Linked DNA regions of Homo sapiens: region 2 is linked to region 1. Evidence: promoter capture Hi-C in human tissues and cell types (Jung and others, 2019). All regions are on one chromosome and are shown on one strand. Each heading gives the region's core, a stretch centred on a gene start or on the middle of the fragment in contact. The rest is flanking DNA. Distances are from core to core; before and after follow the strand shown.

Region 1 (7,364 bases), core at 1,981-4,480:
CATCTGGAAACAGCTGGGAGGCAGCAGCTAACAGGAAATCAAACAACAACAACAAAAAGCAGAGTGTACCACGGAGAGTTAGACAGCTAGAACGAAGAGGCCAGAGGACAGACAGGAAGTTGAAGTTAGAAAGAACCTAGGCCAGAAACAGTCACACAGAAGAGGAGACCCAGCTGGCCTTTCTCAGCTCGGGCAGGAGGGGAGGACCCAGACAGCCGGCAGGGAAGGCATGAACCCCACCAGGATGGAAGCCAGACAGGCTCTGAGGTTAAGTCTTCTTTCTGCCCTGCCCCCAATCCCTTTTTTTCTTTCTTTCTTTTTCTTTTTTAGAGATGGGGATCTTGCTACATTGCCCAGGCTGATCTTGAACTCCTGGGCTCAAGCAATCCCCCACCTCGGCCTCCCAAAGTGCTGGGACTACAGGCATGAGCCACCACGCCCCGCGTTGCCTCCGATCTCAACCTTCCTTCCCTGAAAGCCAGGTAGCAGTTCTCACTAGGAGAGCTGGGGTCAGAAACTCACCTTCCTCTAGTTTCTTTCTGTGCCACAGACTACAGCCCAGACAACTGGTTTTGAGTCATTTGTCTGTCATCCATACCAAAGTTCTACACTGCCAACTAAACTCAGCACTGGACAAACCAGCCTCACACAGACAGACAAAGGGCATCTTCATGAGAAATGACTGGACAGATCCCATCCGAGGGCCTGTGGTGGTAGACCTTAGGTGGCCGACCTTAGGCAGCAGGAGACCTTAGGCACAGGGAAAAGCAGCGAAAGTGAGAGAGCCAAGAGAGCAAGATAAGCTTCTTGCACCAAACTGATGGTGCATTTTGCAATCAAGAAAGTTAACTGAGCAACGGCCAGCTGCCAAAATATTTTTGAGAGAAATGAAAAAAAAAATGCCATTACTAAAATTATTTGGTGTTGTTTAATAAGCCTTTAGGTTATCCAAACAAGAGTGCAAAGGGGAGACTGATTTAGTTTTCATTTAGCAGAGCTTACTTAGGTGAGACCTTTCCAGTCCATGCCCCCCGTGACTCATCCATTCTCTCCCTGTATATGTAGAAGTTTATATTAAAATAAAGAAGAGGATTAAGTTTTCTTAATAAGATACATTCCAGTCTTTCACCTCGAGCTTTGTTTGAAAAGGCTCTCTCGAGGCATAGCATATGCTGCGATCCAGTCGGGTTTGATTCCAATGGAACTGCTCAAAATCAGAGACTGGAGGGCGCACAGGGCTGCAGCCTCAACACCATTTGTTTTTTAAAAAGCAGAACATCTTTACAGGCTCAGTGCCAGCTCAAACTGGCAAGACCAGAGAATCAGCAGAGACTGACCAATGTGCCGGGTAAGGGGGATGGGAGGAGGAGCTACGGGAACAGATCATCAGGGAAACCTTCAAGAGAGGAAATAGGGGTGTTTCAGGAACATAACAAAGAACAAGTTGACTAATCGTTTATTCCAGGGACCGCGGCGGTGAGGGGGGTGCCATCCAGGGCTAAGTATCTAATATTTTAACTTCAGGTAAAAGCATAACATTTAAACCTGGATATGCTTGGGGCTCACAGCTCTCTTAAAAAGGTGAGGTGAGAGGGGGCAAGATATTCCTGCTCTTTTATTACGCTGTTTATGGAGTCTCCTAGGAAACTTCTCCCGCGATGCCTCCAGAGCAGACCTAAGACAGCCCCCGCTAGTCCAGTTCCTAATGCAATAAGCTTAACTCAGCAGAGATCCCATCATGAGCTTTCTGCAGGGCCAAGCTGCTCAAGGCCGCTGCTGCCAGTCCAAAGAAGTTCTGTTGCGCAGACAAAAAAGTTACCTGCAGCAAATACCTAATATTCATAGTGGGAAAGGGAGAGAGAGTGAAAAAGCGCTTTAATCTTTGAGGGCCAGGCATTTTCTGTGACTTGGAAAAGAGGAATCTCTGCCCAGAGCCGAATCCACATGTCAGAACGGTGTCTGGGATGTCTGCCCTCAACAATGACATCTCCCTCATATAATGTTTCAGGACCGGCCAGAAAACCCTCCAACTTGCCAGAAGGACAGACTGCACCTCCAACAGCTGTGGCACCAAAAGTCTTCTTAGGAGGCACCCAAAGCCCTCCCGAGATGGGGGCGGGCCTCCCGATGAGGTTGTAAGGGGGCCAGCCTCCAGGTGCAGGGACACCTAACTCTGGCCAAGCACTGGAATAAGCAATTTACCTATCTCACTCCATCCCCACAACAGCCCCTTGGAGGCAGACACTACAGTCATTCCCCTTTTATAAAGGAGGAAACAGGCTCCGAGGTGTTACACAACCATTAAACAGCAGAGCCAGCCTCCAGTCACCCCGAACAGGTGGTCCTGACCGCTGCTGGATATGGGGGAAACACACAAAGCGTTTGGAGGAAGGAGTCGATAGAGTCGGGTAACACAAGATGCAGCCAGTGTTTATACCTCTTCCTCGTCCAACATCGGTGGTCCCAGGACACTGGAGGGGAGGGCCTGGATGGGGAACGTGAACCCGAAAGGACCCCGGCACTGCTGGCAGGGGAAGAGGCCAGGACCCCGGCTCCTCTGGCAACGCGGGGAACCCCAGATCCATAAACCCTCCCGAAGGAGGAAGACCCAAAGGGAATGCATGAAGCCACGGGGTTGCCAGGCGGCCCTTCCCTCCACGCTTGTTTTGTCAAACAAGGGCCTCCGGCCGGGGCCTCAGGGGGTCGCGGGGGTCCCTACCTGTAGGCCAAAGTCATGCACTCGAAGAGCTTGGTGAGCGAGGCGTCGATGGACAGGTGGCAGGAGCTAGTCTTGCCGAAGCTGTAGGTCTGGCACGTCTGTTTGTTGACCGTGTCGAAATCGTAGCCCTTCTTGGGCGGGTGCTCTCGGTGCGGCGACGACACCATGAAGTGGCCGCTGTGGATGATCTGCTGGCGGCGCGGAGGTTCCTCGCGGCCCGGCCCGGCCCGAGGCGGCGGTGGCGCGGCGCTCGCGTGGGCCCGGGCCGGGGTGGCCGCGCCGGAGGCGGGCGGCGGGGACGGCTCATCCGTGTCCGAGTCGTCGTCGTCCTCGGACACCTGGGGCTTGAGCAGCACCTGGCGGCCCCGGCTGCGAGGCCGGCGCGGGGAGCACATGAAGACGTCGGCGGCCATGAGAAGGGCTCGGCCGGGGGCATCCCCCGGAGCCCGGGGCAACGCGACAAGCGCGCGAGGCAGAGGGGCGCCGGCCCGGCCCGGCCCGCGCGCCGACTGTCCGCGAGCGCGCGGCGCGGCGGGAGGGGGAGGGCTCCGGCCCCGGCGTGACGTCACCGAGGCGTCTGGGCCAATCGGCTGCCCGCGTCGGCCTCTTAAAGGCGCAGGGGAACCTTTCCTTAGCTAGGCGGACCAAAAAAAAAAAAAAAGGGGAAGCGGAGGCCACGCCTCCCGGCCGTGCCCCTCGCCACCTCCTCCTCTCCCGGCGTCCGTGGGTGCTGAGGGACACGGTGGCCGGGCGGAGCGGCTCGCCGGTGTCGCGACCTGGGAGAGGCGTCGGCAGAGTGGGGCCGTGCTAGTCCCGCCCCCGCCCCGCTCCGCGCCCCGGGAGTCGCCCTGTGGCTTCGCCGCAGGCCCGGCCGGCTCCACGTGGTGGGTGCGGGTGGGGCTCCTCGGCCTCCAGGCCCTGCTTTTTCCCTGCCGGGCGGTACCGAGTCCTCGCAGCTCACGCCTGAGTTTGCCGGACGTGGTGGCTATTGTCCTCATTATTCTCATCGTATTGATGGGAACACTGGGTGGCTGAATACCGACAGGATTTTTCTCAGACCTGGAGTCCACAGAGCTGGGAACTTGCTTCCCCTGCGCGTCCCCAGCTCGGCGCAGCTGTTGAGTGGCAGCGCCCCTGAGCCCAGCGACCTCCAGACCCCAGCTCTTTTAACTTCAACTCAGCATGCTGTTGTTATTTTTTTAAAGTTTGACGGACGAGCCAGCCCCCGAAACAATTCTAAAAGGGGAGTATCTGAGCCAGAGTTTTCTTCTCTGTCAAATGGTGAACAATTCCGTTTCCTCAGAAACTTGGGACAGTTTAAAAATGGCTATAGTGGGGCGCGGTGGCTCATGCCTGTAATCCTAGCACTTTTGGAGGCCGAGGCGGGTGGATCACTTGAGGCCAGAAGTTCAAGACCAGCCAGGCCAACACGGTGAAACCCTGTCTCTACTAAAAATAACAAAAATTAGCCGGTCGTAGTGGTGCACCCCTGTAATCCCAGCTACTCGGGAGGCTGAGGCAGGAGAATCGCTTGAATCCGGGAGGTGGAGGTTGCAGTGAGCCGAGATTGCGCCATTGCACTCTAGCCTGGGCGACAGAGCGAGGCCCTGTCTCAAAAAGAAAAATAAATACAAATAAAAATGGCTATAAGTTGCTTAGCAGGCAGGCTGGCACAAAATGAGCGCTAAATAAATGTGCCACAGGTTGGAGGATTTGGATCAACCAGACCAGAGGTGCCTAGAAATTGCCAATAGTCCACCACTATTTGACCTGCAGAAACGGCAACTTCGCGTGGCACAACCTAACTGACAGACACCTCTAGAAAGCTGTCAAGGTTTCCGGGGCTCAAAGCCAGTCTGGGGTGGGGGTGGCAGGGCATCAGAAGAGCCAGTGAGGCCCATGAGCCAGGAACACCCATCCTAATCCTAGCAGGGCGTCCAGAGTCCACAGCCACTCCTGCACTCTGCTTTGTTTTATTGTTGTTTTGTTTTTTGAGACAGAGTCTTGCTCTGTCACCCAAGGCTGTAGCGCAGTGGTGCAATCACCATGTTGGCCAGGCCGGTCTGGAACTCCTGACCTCAAGTGAGGCCTGCCTTGGACTCCCAAAGTGCTGGGATGACAGGCATGAGCCACCGCGCTGGCTCTGCACTCGGCTTTGAAGCTGGTTTCAGTTCCAGATTTGAGTGGGGGGTGAGTCCCCTGCCCCACCCTCTTCCTGACAAAGGCCTCCTGAAGGGAACAGAGGGCTCTCACCAAAATGGCTCCATTAACTTATTTCCAAATGTCTGTATGGAAAAATGGGCTGGATGACTGGCAGTTTTCAGGCATGAGTTCTAGATTTCCCTCTTCAACCTACTACTGTTCCCAATGCTGGTTACAAGTGTTTAAAAGTCCATCCTTTGAGTTGCCTTCCTTTCTCTCAAGACTTGTCTCCTTGGTCCTTGGTAAGTTTACATGCCCAGCCACTTTTTTTTTTTTTTTTTTTTGAGACAGGATCTGGCTCTTTCACCTGGACTGGAGTGGAGTGGTGCCATCATGGCTCACAGCACCCTCAACCTCCAGGGCTCAGGTGATCCTCCCACCTCAACTTCCCAAGTAGCAGGACCACAGGTGCACACCACCGTGCCCTGCTAATTTTTGTACTTTTTATAGAGATGGGGTCTCGCCATGCTGCCCAGCCTGGTCTCGTCTCGAGTTCCTGACCTCAAGTGATCCTCCTGCCTCAGCCTCCCAAGGTGCTAGAATTACAGGTGTGAGCCACCATGCCCTGCTTTTTTGTCTTTGTGTTTACCTATATTTTCTTTCTTTTTTTTTTTTTTTGAGACAGGGTCTCACTGTGTCACATTGGTGTGATCGTGGCTCACTGTAGCCTCAACCTCCCCTGCCCAAGCTATCCTCCCACCTCAGTCTCCCGAGTAGCTGTGACCACAGGTGGGCACCACCACACCCAGCTAATGTTTAATTTTTTTGTAGAGATGGAATTTCCCTATGTTGCCCAGGCTGGTCTCAAACTCCTGGGCTCAGGCAATCCTCCTGCCTCAACCTCCCAAAATGCTGGGATTACAGGCATGAGCCACCACACCTGGCCTGTATTTTCTAATTTCCAAAATAAACATGTATTACTTATATACACATTTTTAACTTAAAAAGTTAACATCAGTTTCCTGGGAGGAAATAAGCCTTAAAGCTGAGGTTGCAAAGTGGCAACCCATAGACCATATTCAGTGCAGAAACATGCCTTGTTTAATCCCACCGTCAATTCCTAAGAGACTGTATTAGGGAAGACTCTTGGGGAAAATTGCAGTTAAAAATGCAAAAAGCAAAGGACCACTGCATGGGTGGTCCAGTCACGGAAGGTGCTCCAAGCTCACAATCAATGTCTGTAAGGTTAAGGAGGTGGTCTCGACTTCCCCTCCTGCTGAGTAGCGGGCAGCATCGGCAGGAGAGTGGCCATGTAGGATGGCGACCCAGGGAGCTAAAAATCCCATGATGACAAGGAGCTCCCACACCCAGACAAGCCACCAAAACCAGAGCCTCACAGCGTTGTCGTCTCTTCTCCACGAATCAGAAGAAACACTGGATTGGAATCAAATCAGCAGTCAGACAAATAGAAATACCTAAGTATGAAGGGTTACACACCAGCACAAGTCAGCAAATAATTAAGGAAAGCCAGCACTCTGGGAGAAAGCGGGTACCTGAGAACTAGCAAGGGGGAGAAAGTTAACAAATATTTTAAAAATAACTAATAGTTTAGGAAAGAACAGAAGATTCTGTACCATGGAGCAATAATAGCCCATTATGAAAAAGAGGCAAATGAGGTCTTGGAAAATAAATATAAATATACAAATATACAAGTATGATTTTTTAAAAGTTGAGTTGAAACGAAAATATAGAAAAAAAGCAAAGTGAATAAAGCTGAAAAACACAGCAGTAAGCTAAAAGATTAAACTGAAGGTTTATATAAAAAGTAACCAGACATGGTGGCACATGCCTCTAGCCCCAGCTACTTGGGAGGTGACGCACGAGAATCGCTTGAACCCGGGAGGCAGAGTTTGCACCACTGCCCTCCAGCCTGGGCAACAGAGCAAGACTCTGTCTCCAAAAATACACAGGCCAGGCACGGTAGCTCATGCCTGTAATCCCAGCACTTTGGGAGGCTGAGGTGGGCAGATCACCTGAGGTCGGGAGTTTCAGACCAGCCTGGCCAACATGGTGAAACCCCGTCTCTACTAAAAATGCAAAATTAGCCAGGCATGGTGGCGCATGCCTGTAATCCCAGCTACTCAGGAAGCTGAGGCAGGAGAATCACTTGAACCCAAGAGGCAGAGGTTTTGGTGAGCCGAGATCACGCCATTGCACTCCAGCCTGGGCAACAAGAGCGAACTCCATCTCAAAATAAATAAACAAACTGAGGGTTTCTCCCAGAAAACTGCCAAAAGGAAAAGAGAAGTTGTGACATGGAGGATCCATCTAGATAGTTACAGAAAGAAAGAAGTAAACAAGAGAGGAAATAACCAAAGCAGCAATAAAAGAAAATTTCCCAGCGATACAAACACAGCCTTTATTTTTATTTTATGAACCTCCTCTCAGTTCAAGCAATTCTCCTGCCTCATCCTCCAGAGTAGCTGGGATTACAGGGGCCCGC
Region 2 (7,364 bases), core at 941-3,440, 320 kb after region 1:
GGGGGTTTCGCCATGTTGCCCAGGCTGGTTTTGAACTCCTGGGCTCAAGCGATCCTCCAACCTCAGCCTTCCAAAGTGCTGGGATTACAGGCATGAACCACCACACCCGGCCCATCTCAAGAGTCTTAATCACATCTGCAGAGTCCCTTCTGTAAGGTAACTTATTCACGGGCTCTGGAGACCAGGACATGAACATCTTTGGGGATCATTATTCAGCACTAGGCAGAGACTAATTATTGGGAACTTATAACCTTGCAGGCATTTTGCATAGATGATCGCTCTGGATTCTTGGACACTACAGAACTGGTTCCTAAAGCAGGTGCACTTACCACATCCCTGTCGGCATGACTTCCAACTACCAGAACCCGCCACTCTGGGTGTTCCTGGGGGGCTTTATCAAGCCACCAGCATCTACTCTGCTGGTGCAAGGTGCAGATCAGAAGGGTGGAGCAATTAACACCCTCTGGGGTCAGTCCTCAACTGCCCCAACTGATAGCAAATGGTGGATAAATACCCCAGCTCCCTCACCCTCAGGTGGGATAACTCTGAGGCATGTTCTACGCTGTCCCCTCATTCCCTAGCAGTATTGAGCTCCAACTACCCACAGGATAATGCTTTCTTGCCTCACTTCCCATTCCACTACCAGTGTCTCCTGGGATCACCTCCTAAATAAACTACTGGCACTAAAATGCTTGTCTTGGGGGTCTCTTCTGGGCCAACCCACACTAAGACAGTACCACTTCCCATTTTACAGATCACACAGACGGCAAGCACTGGAGTGAGGTCCAAACCCAAGCCCACTCGAGCCAAAATTAACTCTGACTACCTCTTTCCTAGCCTGGTTCAAACCTGATAGAGGACAGTCCTAACCAGGCACAGCCTCTTGGCCTGAAGGCAGCAGAAGGAGGCTTCCAACTCTCCTGCTGCCTCACCAAAGCCTCCAAACGCCCAAGGAGTACTGGTGGAGTAGATGTCCTGGAGCCTGTGGAAAAGGTGAGGAGACAGACAGAGAGGCCCAGGGATCCACTTCAGGTCACAAAGCCCGTGAGTGGCAGAGCTGGACCCAGAACCCTAGAGGATGCTGGCCATGCCCAGCTGCAGGCTTAGTGGTACCAAGAAGGGCCTCCGGGTGGGGAGCCTAGCCAGGAAACCATCCCAAGAGGGGCAAGAGGAAGAAAAGAGAATCCTGCTCTGTGGACGCACTAGCTATGAAGCTGTGAGCCTTTTTCCCGTATGCCCAGTCTTAGCCCAAAACAACGGTGATGCTAACCGGTGCTAATATTTAAACAGGCACCAGTCTAACCAGTCTCCAGACACAGCTTCTCCTGCCCTCCAAGCTGCCCTGCCAAGTAGCTCCTGTCACGCTCACTGTATCTGTCAAGAAACTGAGGCTGGGAGAGGTTCGTCATTTGCCTAAGGTTAAACAGCAGGGCAGGCTTCCCGGGGGCACCGGCACAGAGATGAACGGCCCGTCCAATCCCCCTCCTCTGCCCCGTTTTTAGCCTATAGAAGGTGTACTGGGTTGAATAGCATCCTTCCAAAATTCACGTCCACTGGGACCTCAGAATGTGACCTTATTTGGAAACAGGGTCTTTGTAGATGGAATTAGTTCAAATGAGGTCATACTGTGTTAGGGTGGGCTCTAAATCCAGTGTCTAGTGTCCTTACACTAGGGAAGGAGGCCGTGTGGCGTGGTGACAGAGACAGAGGCGAGTGAAACACAGCTTTAAGCCAGGCAATACGGGCTTGCTGGCAATTCCCAGAAGCTGGAGAGGCGAGGAAGGGTCCTCCCTCCCCGAAGCCTGTGGAGCGGCATGGCCCTGCCACGCCCTGCTTTCAGACCGCCGGCTTCCAGAACTGTGGGAAAATGTGTCTGTCGTTTTAAGCCCCCAGTCTATGGTACTTAGTTACAGTGGCCCTAGGAGATGAACACAGAAGCAGGTAGGAGAAAAAGAGACGCCCAGGCCCTCGGGGAACCTTGGGCCTCAGGACAGCAAGGGTTTGCCTTCGGAGGGCCCTGGAGGTCCCTGTGCAAGGGACTGTGGCTGCACATTGACAACTTTTACCCTCTTTGAGGGAGGCACATGAGGAGTAGTACAGATGTGTGCAGCCTTTGCCCTCGTGGAAACAGGCCAGGCTCTGGGCAGCAGGCGAGCACGGGCCCAGGGCCTGAAAGAGCCTTTGTTTGGGCATTCAAGTGGCCAGACCAGCAGCCGGATGCCCAGCCAAGTGCCTGCCAGGCAATAAACGCTTGGCACATAGGCCAAATGCCCAAACCGTACTTGACCGCTTCCCCTGGGGACAGAGAACCCAGGGCCAGAGAAAGGAACAGCAGCCCAGGCAGGGCAGCAGCAGCCCACAGCCTCACGGCATGGCTGTGCTGCACTTGGACGGTACCAGCAGCTGGGGAGCACCCCCAGCAGCGCCTCCACGTGCCAGCCAGGGTGGAGCTTCCACACACGGTGCCAGCTCCCTGAATTGTCACAGCCCTGTGAGGCAGGGACTGCCGTCACCCTTGTTTTACAGATGGGGAGACTGAGGCTCCCAGAGGGAACCTGCCCATAGTAACAGCCAGTTGGTCTCAAAACCATTTTCTTTTCTCTTTTTCTCTTTTTTTTTTTAAATATAATTGGGATATAATTCACATACCATAAAACTTGTTCTTTTAAAGTATATAATTTAGTGATTTTTAGTATATTCAGAGTTGTACAACCATTACCTAACTCCAGAACATTCTTTTTTTTTTTGTTTGTTTTTGAGACAAGGTCTCGCTCTGTTGTCCAGGCTGGAGTGCAGTGGCACAATCTTGGCTCATTGCAACCTCTGCCTCCCAGGTTCAAGTGATTCTCCTGCCTCAACCTCTTGGGTAGCTGGGATTACAGGCACCCACCACCACGCCTGGCTAATTTTTGTATTTTCAGTAGAGACAGGGTTTGACCATGTTGCCCAGGCTGGGAGAACATTCTTATTACTCTAAAAAAAAACCTTGTACCCAGTAGCAGTCATGCCCTCCTTCCTGCCTCCCGCAGCCCCTGGCCACCACTCACCTACTCCCCGTCTCTATAGATTTGCCTGTTCTGGGCAGTTCTCAGCAATGGAATCCTACTGTGTATCTTTTTGTGACTGGTTCTTTAACTCAGCATCACATTTTCAAGGTTCATCCATGCTGCAGCCTGGCTCCGTACTGGTGACAGTACTTCATTTCTCTCTCCCTTTTGTTCAGACCAGGTCTCCCTCTGTCCCCAAGGCTAAAGTGCAGTGGTGTGATCATGGCTCACTGCAGCCTCAAACTCCTGGACTCAAACAGTCCTCCCATCTCAGCCTCCCAAAGTGCTGAGATTACAGGTGTGAGCCACTGCACCCAGCTAAATAATTTTATTTTTTATCTTTGTAGAGATGGGGGTCTTGCTGTGTTACCCAGGATAGGCTCAAACTCCTGACCTCGAGTAGTCCTCCTGCCTCCCAAAGTACTGTACTGGGATTACAGGTGTGAGCCACCACGCCCAACTTTTCATTTCTCTTCATAGCTGAATGATATGCCACTGTACAGATAGACCACAGTGAACTCCTTTTTTTTGGGGTGACAGAGCAAGACTCTGTCACCCAGGCTGGAGTGCAGCGATCTCAACTCACTGCAACCTCTGCCTCCTGGGTTCAAGCGATTCTCCTGTCTCACCCTTCCGAGTAGCTGGGACTAAAGACATACTCCACCATGCCTGGCTAATTTTTGCATTTTTAGTAGAGACAGGGTTTCACCATGTTGGCCAGGCTGGTCTTGAACTCCTGACCTCAAATGATCTGCCTGCCTCGGCCTCCCAAAGTACTGGGATTACAGGCGTGAGCCACCGCGCCAGGTAATGAACTCCTTCTTAACTAGTACAGTACAAGGCCTTTCCAGCAGCCGTTTAACAGATACTTGTTGGATGGAGGTGGGGCAGACAGGACTGGCATTTCCCATGAGAAATGGCCCCTCTCTCCCCTACACCTCATCATGCCAAACAACACAGAAGCAGGAGAGGCTCCGGGTCCCCTGGATCCCTCTCTCCCGGCCCCCACCTGACGTCTGCATGCCCAGGCCCAGGCACACACGGCCACACCCACTACCTGTAGTGAAGGACAAATCGACATGCCACGGCACCCAGGAGCAGGATGATGGTCAGGTAGAGCTTGAACTTCTCATATTCGTCCTTGTAGGCGAACCTGCCACGACAGACACGCCCAGGGGTGTGCCCCTTACCATGACTATTCCAGCACCTGGGCATGGCCCTCAGCCCCATCAGACCCTTGTCCTTCAGCCACTGCCATGGCCCATAAGGACCTTCCCATTCCACTAAAGGAAAGACCTGGCCTTGACGGGTTAGTGGTGACCAATGAGGGGAAGAGGGCCAAGTATGCAGAAGGCCCATGTCCCTGGACTCTGGTCTGGGGCTCTGGGCCCATGCTGGGGACAGGCAGGGGGCAGAGACAGGGCCTCTTCCCTCAACCAACTGCTGCTGCTGAAAGGCCAGGGTTTGCGGCTGTCTGGAAATGGGGTAGACTCAGAGTAGACTGGACTGCCCATCTCCCTATGTGTGTGATAGGGCGTGAAACAGAGCAGGGCCATTTCTTGTGCGAAATGGGAAGTCCTGTCCACCCAACATACTGACTTGGAGGAAGGGAGGGAGGGGAGGGAGGGGAGGGAGGGAAGGAAGGGAAGGAACCAAGGAACCAACCCTCTCCCAGGTGCTCTACCTACAGAGGAGGAGAGTGTCAGAAACTCCAAAAGCCAGCGCCTCACCTGTGACCAGGTTTTTATTTATGCAAAAATTCTAGCTTAGATGCAACTTCCCTGAGCTGAAGGAACAGAATGCCGGAGGCCTCTGAGCCAGGTGAAAAGCGTGAGACGGGGTGTGGGTTGGGGTGTAGGATAGGGTGTGGGGTGAGAGTGGGGTGGGATGTGAATATGGGGTGTGGGGTGGGGTGTGGGTGTGGGGTGGGGTGTGGGTGTGGGGTGTGTGGTGTGGGTGTGGGGTATGGGGTGTGGGTGTGGGGTGTGGGTATAGGTGTCGGTGTGGGGTGTGGGGTGTTGGGTATTAGGTGTGGGGTGTGAATGGGGGTGTGGGGTGTTGGGTGTGGGGTGTGAGTATAGGTGTGGGTGTGGGGTATGGGGTGTTAGGTGTGGGGTGTGGGTTTGGGGTATAGGTATGGGTGTAAGGTGTGGGGTGTGGGTTTGGGTTTGGGGTGTGGGTGTGGGGTGTAGGTGTGGGGTGTGAGTGTGGAGTGTGATATGGGTGTAGAGAGTGGGTGTCAGTTTGGGGTGTGGGTGTTGGGTGTGGGGTGTGAATATGGGGTGTGGGGTGTGGGGTGTGGGTGTGGGGTGTGTGGTGTGGGTGTGGGGTGTTAGTGTGGGGTGTGGGGTGAGGTGTGGGTGTGGGGTGTGGGGTGTGGGTGTGGGATGTGGGGTGTGGTGTGTGGTGTGGGTGTGGGGTGTGGGTATGGGGTGTGGAGTGTGGTGTGTGGTGTTGGTGTGGGGTGTTGTGTATGGGGTGTGGGGTGTAGGTGTGGCTGTAAGGTGTGGAGTGTGAGTGTGGAGTGTGGGGTGTGAGTATGGGGTGTGGGTGTAGGGTGTGGGTGGGGTGTTGGCATGGGGTGTGGGTTTTGAGTGTGTGGTGTGGGGTGTGGGTGTGGGTGTGGGTGTGGGTTCGCAGTGTGGGGTGTGGGTGTGGTGTTGGTGTTGGTGTTGGTGTGGGTGGGGTGTTGGTGTGGAGTGTGGGTGTGGGTTTGAGGTGTGGGGTGTTGGTGTGGGTGTGGATGTGGGGTGTGGGTTCTCAGTGTGGGGTTTGGGGTGTGGGTGTGGGTGTGGGGGCGGTGTGAGGTGTGGGTCTGGGTGGTGGGTGGGGGACACTTACTTGGCCTGGTTGCTGAGGAGGGTCACGTTCACATTGCCGAGGACCAGGTTCAAGTAGAGCCTGGAAGGAAACACCTGTGAGGGGCATGATCCTTAGCAGGTGGGTGCGAATCAACAACATTCAAACTCAACACACTTAATGAGCACATCCCAAGCACTGATGTTAGAAGATAGGGGGCCTAAGCTCAGCGGGCAAATGGGCCCCCACATCGAGTGAGAATGACAACTAACCAAAGGACATTAACCTGTGACAGGACAGTGTGAGGAGTCGATTTCTCCTCCATGCTACCCTAGAGACCGTATTTCTAAGCCTGCCTTGCAGCCAGATGTGAGCAGGTGACTAAGCATAGCCAATGAGGTGGAGGCAAAGGTACAACCTCTAGGTCAATTTTTAAAGAATTTTCTTTATTTTTCATTATTATTATTATTATCATTGTTATTATTTTTAGAGACAGGGTCTCACTCTGTTGCCCAGGCTAGAGTGCAATGGTATGATCATAGCTCACTGCAGTGTTTTTTGTTTTTTTTTTTTTTTGAGACAGAGTCTCGGTCTGTCACCCAGACTGGACTGCAGTGGCACGATCAGGACTCGCTATAACCTCCACCTCCTGGGTTCAAGCAATTCTGCTGCCTCAGCCTCCCAAGTAGCTGGGATTACAGGCACGTGCCACCAGGCCAGCTAATTTTTGTATTTTTAGTAGGTTTAGGGGTTTCACCATGTTGGCCAGGCTGGTCTTGAACTCCTAACCTTAAGTGATCCACCTGCCTCCGTCTCCCAAAGTGCTGGGATTACAGGCATGAGCCACTGTGCCCAGCGTCACTGCAGTCTTGAACCTCTAGGCTCAAGTAGTCCTCCCACCTCAGTCGCCAAAGTAGCTGGGATTATGGGTACACACCAGCACACCAATTTTGTTAAAGTTTTGTAGAGATGTGGTCTCACAATGTTGTCCAGGCTGGTCTTGAATTCCTGGGCTCAAGTGATCCTCCCACCTCGGCCTCCCGAAGTGCTGGGATGACAGGCACAAGCCACCGCGCCCGGCCTTGAGTTGGGTTTTCTATCGTTTGCAATCCAAAGATTCCCAACTGAGGTTAAGAGGCACAGAGGCCTAGGGACAGAGGGGCAGGAAGGCAGACACGCATGACACTGTAAGAGGGTCACGAATGCTAGGCTGCTGCTCATTCTGCAGAAAATGATCATCACTTAACTCATGGGGTCTATTCGAACACAGTCAAAAAGGAGAAGCTCGGAGGAATGGGTTAAAATATAACAGGGCTAGCCAGCTCCCTCCCACCCGCTACAGGCCTGAAAGGAGCCCCTCCTCCTAATGCACGGCTCTGACTCAGCGCGAGGCTGATCCGGAAAACAGGGTCAGGGTGAACTGACTGTGCTCAGCAGCGTTAAGTCAGGTCATGATGATATGAGGCTGTAAGCAGCTCTCTCTCTCCAGAACAAGGTGGCAATGACATCACTTAAGGG

Evidence for each region. Contacts are between HindIII fragments. The study calls those that stand out against the background at their distance.
Region 2: a contact is called between a fragment that was not itself captured here and the fragment with the promoter of MLXIP in region 1, in 1 of the 25 tissues and cell types used here (spleen).

Annotation. Positions count from the first base shown.
Region 1 is chr12:122,074,622-122,081,985 of GRCh38, reverse strand. MLXIP (MLX interacting protein) reads right to left here and starts at 3,230. Exons shown (of 17, transcript NM_014938.6): 1 at 2,720-3,230. The coding sequence starts at 3,132. RefSeq lists enhancers at 611-660, 731-780, 2,648-2,887, 4,955-5,004 and silencers at 2,948-3,397, 3,408-3,687. The HindIII fragment of the contact is 9,979 bases long and covers 1,260-7,364 here.
Region 2 is chr12:121,748,964-121,756,327 of GRCh38, reverse strand. It overlaps TMEM120B (transmembrane protein 120B), which reads right to left. Exons shown (of 12, transcript NM_001080825.2): 4 at 5,889-5,948; 5 at 4,105-4,200. Among named protein-coding and RNA genes, the nearest start is that of TMEM120B, 40 kb to the right of the region's middle. The HindIII fragment of the contact is 7,829 bases long and covers 1-6,104 here.